Linked DNA regions of Homo sapiens: region 1 is linked to region 2. The links are contacts of gene promoters, found by promoter capture Hi-C in blood cells and fetal thymus (Javierre and others, 2016). All regions are on one chromosome and are shown on one strand. Each heading gives the region's core, a stretch centred on a gene start or on the middle of the fragment in contact. The rest is flanking DNA. Distances are from core to core; before and after follow the strand shown.

Region 1 (4,160 bases), core at 1,306-3,805, 250 kb before region 2:
GAGACAGATTCTGGTTCTGTCACCCAGGCCAGAGTGCGGTGGCATGATCTTGACTCACTGCAACCTCTGCCTCCCAGGTTCAGGCAATTCTCCTGCCTCAGCCTCCTAAGAAGCTGGGATTATGGGTGTGCACCACACCTGGCTAATTTTTGTATTTTTAGTAGAGATGGGGTTTTGCCATGTTGGCCAGGCTGGTCTCAAACTCCCGACCTCAGATGATCTGCTCACCTCAGCCTCCCAAAGTGCTGGGATTACATTTTTATTTATTTTTTATTTTATTTATTTATTTATTCTATTTTTTTTTTTTTTTTTTTTTTTTTTGAGACAGAGTCTCTGTCACCCAGGCTGGAGTGCAGTGGCGCGATCTCGGCTCACTGCAAGCTCCGCCTCCCGGGTTCACGCCATTCTTCTGCCTCAGCCTCTCTGAGTAGCTGGGACTACAGGCGCCCGCCACCGCGCCCGGCTAATTTTTTTTTGTATTTTTAGTAGAGACAGGGTTTCACCGTGGTCTCGATCTCCTGACCTCATCATCCGCCCGCCTCGGCCTCCCAAAGTGCTGGGACTACAAGCATGAGCCACCGCGCCCGGCCTTTTTTTTATTGTTTTTATTTTTAATTTGAGATTCTCCATTTCTTCATTGATTGTATATTTTCCTTCAATTATTTAAACATATTTATAATAGCTACTCGGAAGTCTTTGCTAAATCAAACATCTGGGCCCGCATAGCATCAATTTCTATTTGCCCCTTTTCCTGAATAGAGATCACATATTCCTGTTTCTTTGCATGTTTAGTAACTTTTGGTTGAACATTGGATATTGTAGATACAATGTTATAGTGACTTTGGATTCTGTCATGTTCTTCTAAAGATGCTTGGATTTTTATTCCAGTAAGCAGTTAATTGTCTGGATTCAATCTGCAAACTTCACATCCCTCACAGTGTAGTTATTGATATCTGTTCTTTTTGTGACCCGCTATTGCTTTAAGCCTGATCCCACAGGTCTTTCCTCTGCCTGCCAGATTTGGTGGCTAGCCAAGTATTTGGGCAGACATGGGGTTCATCGTGGCTGTGACTTCCTTGCTTCTAGGGATTCCCCTAATTTCCAGCCGCTCTGCCTGCTGTGTGCTCTGTCCTTAACTTCAGCTTTTTGAAACCCAAGATGCATGTGTTTGAGGCAAGGAGCATCAGACCCACAGCCCTTGTTCTGCATAGCTGTCTTTCAAGAGAAGACTCTTTCACCAGGCCCTGAGGGGTTTGCTTCACGTAGGCACAGCTGAACTGTCAGTGGAGCAAAGCAGCTCATGCCCAGAACTGTCTTGTTGTTTGCTTGTTTTGATTTTAGTTTTAGTTTAAAACTCTTCTGAGGCAGGGTGTGGTGGCTCAGGCCTGTAATCCCAGCACTTTGGGAGGCCGAGGCAGTAGGATCACTTAAGCCCAAGAATTTGAGACCAGCCTAGGCAACAGTGAGACCCTGTCTCTGAAAAAAAATCAATCAATCAATACATAAATTTTCCAGGCGTGGTGTCACACGCCTGTGGTCATAGCTACTTGGGAGGCTGAGGTGGAAGGATGGCTTGAGCCCAGGAGGTCAAGGCTACAGTGAGTTGCAATTGTGCCACTGCACTTCAGCCCGGGCGACAAAGCCAGACCCTGTCTCAAAAAACAAAAAACAACTATGGCTGAGTGCAGTGGCTTATGCCTGTAATCCCAGCACTTTGGGAGCTTGAGGCCAGAGGATCACTTTGAGGCCAGAGGATCACTTGAGCCCAAAAGTTCAAGACCAGCCTGGGCATTGTGGCGAGACCTCATCTCTACAAAAAATACAAAAATTAGCCAGGCATGGTGGCATGGGCCTGTAGTCCCAGCTACTCAGGAGGCTGAGGTGAGAGGATCACCTAAGCCCAGGAGGTCGAAGCTGCAATGAGCCGTGTTTGCACCAATTCATTCCAGCCTGGGGCTACAGAGCAAGATCCTGTCTCGAAAAAAATAAAAAATAAATAAAACTCTTCTGGTTTCTGTCTGATTTCCAGTATCTTTAAGTTTGGGGTTTTTGTTTTGTTTTGTTTTGATTTTTTTTTTTTTTTTAATACACAGAGTCTCACTCTGTTGCCCAGGCTGGAGTGCAGTGGCATGATCATAGCTCATTGTAATCTTGAACCTCTGGGCTCAAGCGATCTTCCTGCCTCAGCTTTTGGAGTAGCTAGGACAACAGGCACATGCCACTATGCCCAACTTATTAAAAAAAAAAAAAAGAAAGTTTTGTAGAGATGGAGTCTCTCTATGTTGCCAAGACTGGTCTTGAACTCCCAGCATCAAGGAATCCTTCTGCCTTGGCCTCCTAAAGTGTTAGGATTACAGGTGTGAGCCACCATACCTGGCCTTTAAGTATTTTTTTTAAATCCAGTATTTTACTGTTTTGAAAGCCCCCAGCTAAATTGGGGGTCCGGTACCACAGTGCCTAGCAACACCGCCCTAACACGAAATAAGCAGGAGCAGGATGTGGGTGTTTACACTGTGCCTTTCGTTACTTCTAACTGTGGACAGCCTGCTGCTTAGTTGTCTGATCCATGACCAGGTGTCCCTCACTGGGAAACTTGTTTATACTGGCAGACACCTGGTGGCCCTTGTCTGACCCATGTCCTGCCTGCCCATTGCTCTGATGCTAGGATCCTGACCTTGTGTTCTCCCTGGCATCCCAGGGAAAACTCCGCCTGGGGTAGCCCCTGGTTCTTCAGATGGAGGGCGCAGTACACCATAATCAGAAACAAGCTGAAAGATTTATTACTTTCAGATCCTGGGCAGGGAAGGCACAGTGAGTCAGGAGGATGTCTCCTGTCCCTGGCTCACACGAAGCAGGAACAAAGGGTCAGGCAGAAAGAGAGAGAGAGAGAGAGAGAAAGAAAGGGAGAGACAGAGAGAGAGGCAGCAACTGACAGTATGTATAAGGAGGCTCATCAGAGCCCAGGAGTATAGATAAGGAAATAGGATGTGGGTCACCTTAAGTTCATGCACAAATGCCTGAATGGTCCATTAAACAGAAGCAGCAGGAAAAGTGGGGAGCTGCTAGGTGAGAGAGCTGCTTCTAAGTTCTTACCTCTGGTCACCTGCTTGAACCATTTGGGTGTGTGGTTCTGCTTCTAATGCCTAGGCAGCAACCTTCGCTGTGTCATTCCCATGACATTTATCACTGTTGGTTTGGGGGTTGGCGTGCTCACTTAACTCCTGCCTCTACCAAATGGTCACTCTCCACCAGTTGCGTGTGTGTGTGTGTGTTTGTGTGTGTGTATTAGCCCTTGCATGTGTGTGTATTATCTTGCATTGCTGAAAAGTAATACCTGAGACTGGGTAATTTATAAAGAGGTTTAATTGGCTCATGGTTCTGCAGCCTATAGGAAGCATGACACAGGCATCAGCTCAGCTTCTGGGGAGACCTCAGGGAGCTTTTACTCACAGTGGAAGATGAAGCAGGAGCAGACATCTCACATAGCAGAGCAGGAGCAAGAGAAAGAGAGTAGGGGGCCAGGTGCAGTGGCTCACACCTGGAATCCCAGCACTTTGGGAGGCCAAGGTGGGCAGATCACTTGAGGTCAGGAGTTTGAGACCAGCCTGGCCAACATGGTTAAACCACGTCACTACAAAAAATACAAAAATTAGCTGGGCGTGGTGGTGCGCACCTGTGATCCCAGCTATTCAGGAGGCTGAGGCACGAGAATCACTTGAACCCGGAAGGTGGGGGTTGCAGTGAGTCAAGGTTGTGCCACTGCACCACAGCCTGGGTGACAGAGCAAGATCCTGTCTTTTAAAAAAAAAAAAAAGAGAAAGAGAGTGCAGTGGGGGAGATGCCACACACTTTTAAATGACCAGATCTCACGTGAACTCAGTCACTATTGCAATGACAGCACCAAGAAGATGGTGCTAAACCATTCATGAGAATTCTACACCATGTTCCAATCACCTTTCATCAGGCCCCATCTTCAATATTGGGGATTACAATTCAACATGAGATTACGTGGCATCATGTATTGAAACTGTATCAGTGTGTGATTGTATGTGTGTGTTTCCCACTGCACTCAGCACCCAAGCATGTATTGTTGACCCCACACCATCAGGTGGCCTCCGCCAGCCCTCTCCCCTCCTGTCCACTGAGCCTCCCAGCTCTTC
Region 2 (4,070 bases), core at 1,102-3,601:
TCCAGCCTGGGCGACAGAGCAAGACTCCATCTCAAAAAAAAAAAAAACCACACACACACATTGTGGTATCTCTAACTCATTAGGTCATTAAGTCTCAATTCCAGGAGGGGTGACTCTAAAGAAGCCTCTACAAGGGCTCTAACCCCCAACAAAATTAAAACCAGTGCTTAAGGAAAGATTAAACATTAGGTCAGATTAAAAACAAACAGACAAAACTCTTCTCCAAAAGTTTACAAAATTATTAAGGACATGATTTGATCACCATAACGGAATATATCAACACATCATGAAACATAATTAGAATGCCTTAAAGTGCAAAAGAACTGGCAAACAGGTTTATTTAGACCAAATGTAACTGTATCACTCATCAGGTAGTCAATTTATGAAACTTCCTTACCCTATAACATAGGCTGGGTGAAAATATCATTAGACATAAGAAGGGTTTAGATTAACCTATGGATAGCAGCTCTGTAACAAGGGAAGAGAAAAAGCAACGTCTTGGGAATTGGCTCCTAACCTTCGTGTGTGAAACCAAGAAAAGCAAAATGCATTACTATAAAAAGGCTATTGTTGCCACTGTCAAGCAACCCAGAGCACTGGACTAATGTGATAAAAGAGTCGTATCCTGTGGGTAATCTTTTAAAATCAACTTTTCAGTCTTTTTCTTCACCAGTTAAATAACCCTCTACGATTTTCCCCTTTCCACACGTCCTACTATCTAAGTGGAATAGGTTGTCTGCTTTTCATTTGCACGTCTTGCTTTCCTAACTCTTGTTAGCTGTCTCACAGAGATAGCCACATTCAAGCCTGCTATCCTTATGCTGCTTAAGAGATGCCTGAATTTAACATCCAAATGCCTCATACAATCTCCCCCAGTCAATCCTGAGAAAATCCTCTCTAAATTCCCATCTGATCACTGCCCAGTGAGGTTACCAGCAGCCCTTAGAAGCCCCAACTCACATGGTACTTTCGTGCTGCCGCCGGGGAGTGACAAAGAGCATGCGGGTGGGGCGGGCACTACTGGCATCTGGGTGGGCACTCCAAGGCTTGGCATAGCTATGATCCAGAAAAACCAGGTCCAGCTCCCGTTCATGCACTGAAAGCTGGAAGAGCAGCGAGGTGCCCATGCGTCGAGCTGAAGTCTGGAAGTCCCTCTCCCCACCCCGGTGGGCCATGTCAGTGGAGGGGCAGAAAGTCAGAGCATGGGTATCTGCATGCTAGTCACCTGCAGTGAAAAGTTTCAGTTTAGGTCAATTCCAATATCCTAAATTTCTCCCAATCTACACCATCTAACATGCTTACTTTTGTAACCTACTATCATTCCTATTGAGTATCCATTTCACGGCAGACCTCTGGTGGGGACGGTTCGTGGAATCCCACACCAACACCAAAAAAAAAGAAAAAAAAAACTATGGTGCCACGAGTTGTCCCATACTCAACCTCTAGCGAACTGAAATTACCTAACGGGAGAGCTCACCGACCCCAAGGTTCAGAAAGACCTCGCGTGGACAGACAGTAAACTTGCTTGGCCAGCACCACTTCCTAGGTGGGCAGGAAGGGTTTTGACAAACAGGAAATCACAAATATGAATTCGTTGAAAGCTAAGGATCTCTGTTGCTTCACACCATCCTCTAACGACAATGCGAAGGGAGCCGGGGCCGCAGCTAGAGCGTGGGCACCCCTAAAGGGCAGGGCAACGCCGGCCTCAAAAAAGCGAATCCCAGCTAGGGCTCCACTTCTTCAAGCCTCTCGTATTGTGCGAAACAAAAGTTCTGTTAAGTACTTCGTAATATTCCAGAGTTGTTTACATAAAAATGAAAACTGCCCCCCCAACAAAGCCTGTGACAAAATGATCCCCGTGGAAGCCCTTTCACCCTCACCCCCAGTGAGGCGTCCCTAGCAAACCGCCCAGGACCCCGGCTGCCCCGCAGGCGTTCCCGCCACTGAGCCTCCACACGGCCCATCTAGGAGACAGGGCTATGACTCGCATTTTACAGACGAAGTCGCCAGCTCGGGGAACTGAAGCGATTTGGCCAAGGTCATCCAGAGTTCGCGACGAGGAGGAGCCGCCTGGCCCCCGCCTCCCGCCTCCCGCTCCCTGGGGCAGGGCTCGGCGTCCGCGTCACGGAGGCCCAGACGCGGCCCCTGCCAGCCCGCCCCCGGCCCGACCCGCCCCGCCCGACCAGCACCGGCAGCCGGCCCTAGCCCGGGCCCCCGCATGCCCCGGGAGCCCTGAAGCCCTCGCCGAGACCCCCGGCCGTCCCAACCACGGCCGCGATCCCCACGGCCCGCCACTCCCCTCGAAGCCAACGCTGCTCTCACCCGCGGTCTTACGGCCGCGCGCTCGGCCACGGCCGGATCCCTAAGCGCGTGCGCGTTAACGCCTCCACGCCCCGGCGCTGCGGGCACCGAGTAAAACGCGGAAGCGGGTTACGGCCTGGGAAGGGAGAGGCGGTGAGCGGCAAAGCCCGGAACGGATGAAGCTCCGGCGCCTCTGTCCGGAAGAGGAGAGCCAAGAACACGCGAGCATGTCCGAAGCAGAAAGTCAACAACTAGGCTGGAGTTTCCCCCTCGCGCATATTCAGTAGGGAAAGCGAGGGCGGAGGACTAGGCTGGCTTCTACGGCCCCAGTTCTCGCCACCCCCACCGTGTTGGTCCTTTGTGCCCTCTGGGCGGTCGAGCACCCAACGGTCCACCTCCACCAGGGCAGCCACCTGAATTTACTCATTAAGAATTTACCTAATGTGGCTCACGCCTGTAATCCCAGCGCTTTGGGAGGCCTAGGCGGGAGGACCTCTTGAGCTCAGGAGTTTGAGATGAGCCTGGCCAATATGATGAGACCCCCGTATCTACAAAAAATTTTAGAAATTAGGTGTGTGTGATAGTGGTGTATGCCTGTAGTCCCAGCTACCCGGGAGGCTGAGGTGGGAGGATCACTTGAGTCTGGGAGGTCCAGGCTGCAATGAGCCATGGTTGCACCACTGCACTCCAGCCTGGACGACGGAGTGAGACTACGTCTCAAAAAAAAAAAAAAAGAATTTTGTTACTGACCCTAGATTGTTTTGTGTGGTTAACTTTCCTATGTGTTTTGTGTAGAGAGAGTAGATCCTCAAAATCAGGGACATTAACCTTTGTATCCTCCAGAGAACATACACCCAGAACATAGGTAATTGTTCAAATGTTGACTGATCAATAATTGGTTATTTGGTTGACTGACTGACAACATGACATCAAGAGACATGAGACAAGACAGCAAGAGACATGGTTCAAGATGATAAATCTCACCCGGGATCTGTGGCTCATGCCTATAATCCCAGTACTTTGGGAGGCCAAGGTGGGAAGATTGCTTGAGCCCAAGAGTTCAAGACTAGCCTGCACAAAACAGTGAGACTTCGTTTCTATTTAAAAAAAGAAATGGCCGGGTGCGGTGGCTCACGCCTGTAATCCCAGCACTTTGGGAGGCTGAGGAGGGTGGATCACGAGTTCAGGAGTACAAAACCAGCCTGGCCAACATAGCGAAATCCTGTCTCTACTAAAAATACAAAAATTAGCCAGGTGTGGTGGCGCATGCCTGTAATCCCGGCTACTCGGGAGGCTGAGGTGGGAGAATCTCTCAAACTCAGGAGGCAGAGGTTGCGGTGAGCCAAAATCGCGCCATTGCACTCCAGCCTGGGCGACACAGCAAGACTCTGTCTCAAAAAAAAAAAAAAGATAGGTACAGACATGCAAACACTCGAAACATTCAGAAAGCCACTCAAAGCTGTGTTCCACAAAGATGAGAGGGTAAACTGAGAAGACGGAAGGCATAGGATCGGGGAAGCAGGGTCTAACACAAGAAGCAGACGAGGAATTCTGAAGGTGATGGCAAAGAGTATCCCAGGACAATAGCTATGCTGCAGGACTGGGGACCACTAGTCTCAGCTGGGGGAGAAGAGAAGACCAGGAGGGAGAGCCCCGGGGAAAACAATAAAACTGGGAAAATGCCTCATAGATTTGAAAAAATCAAGGAATGCTATTTAAAAGTGCTGTTTAGAAATATGGAGCTTAAGGCCATAGAAATTATCACAAAT

The links. The method cuts DNA at HindIII sites, captures the fragments that hold promoters and counts their contacts. A CHiCAGO score of 5 or more calls a contact.
Region 1: a fragment that was not itself captured here is called in contact with the fragment with the promoter of KANSL3 in region 2 in 1 of 17 cell types (activated CD4 T cells); the score reaches 5.5 in activated CD4 T cells.

Annotation. Positions count from the first base shown.
Region 1 is chr2:96,388,835-96,392,994 of GRCh38, forward strand. No RefSeq gene overlaps it. Among named protein-coding and RNA genes, the nearest start is that of NCAPH, 55 kb to the left of the region's middle. The HindIII fragment of the contact is 6,592 bases long and covers 1-4,160 here.
Region 2 is chr2:96,635,961-96,640,030 of GRCh38, forward strand. KANSL3 (KAT8 regulatory NSL complex subunit 3) reads right to left here and starts at 2,352. Exons shown (of 21, transcript NM_001115016.3): 1 at 2,323-2,352; 2 at 961-1,225. The coding sequence starts at 1,175. RefSeq lists an enhancer at 12-121 and a silencer at 2,072-2,281. The HindIII fragment of the contact is 21,308 bases long and covers 1-4,070 here.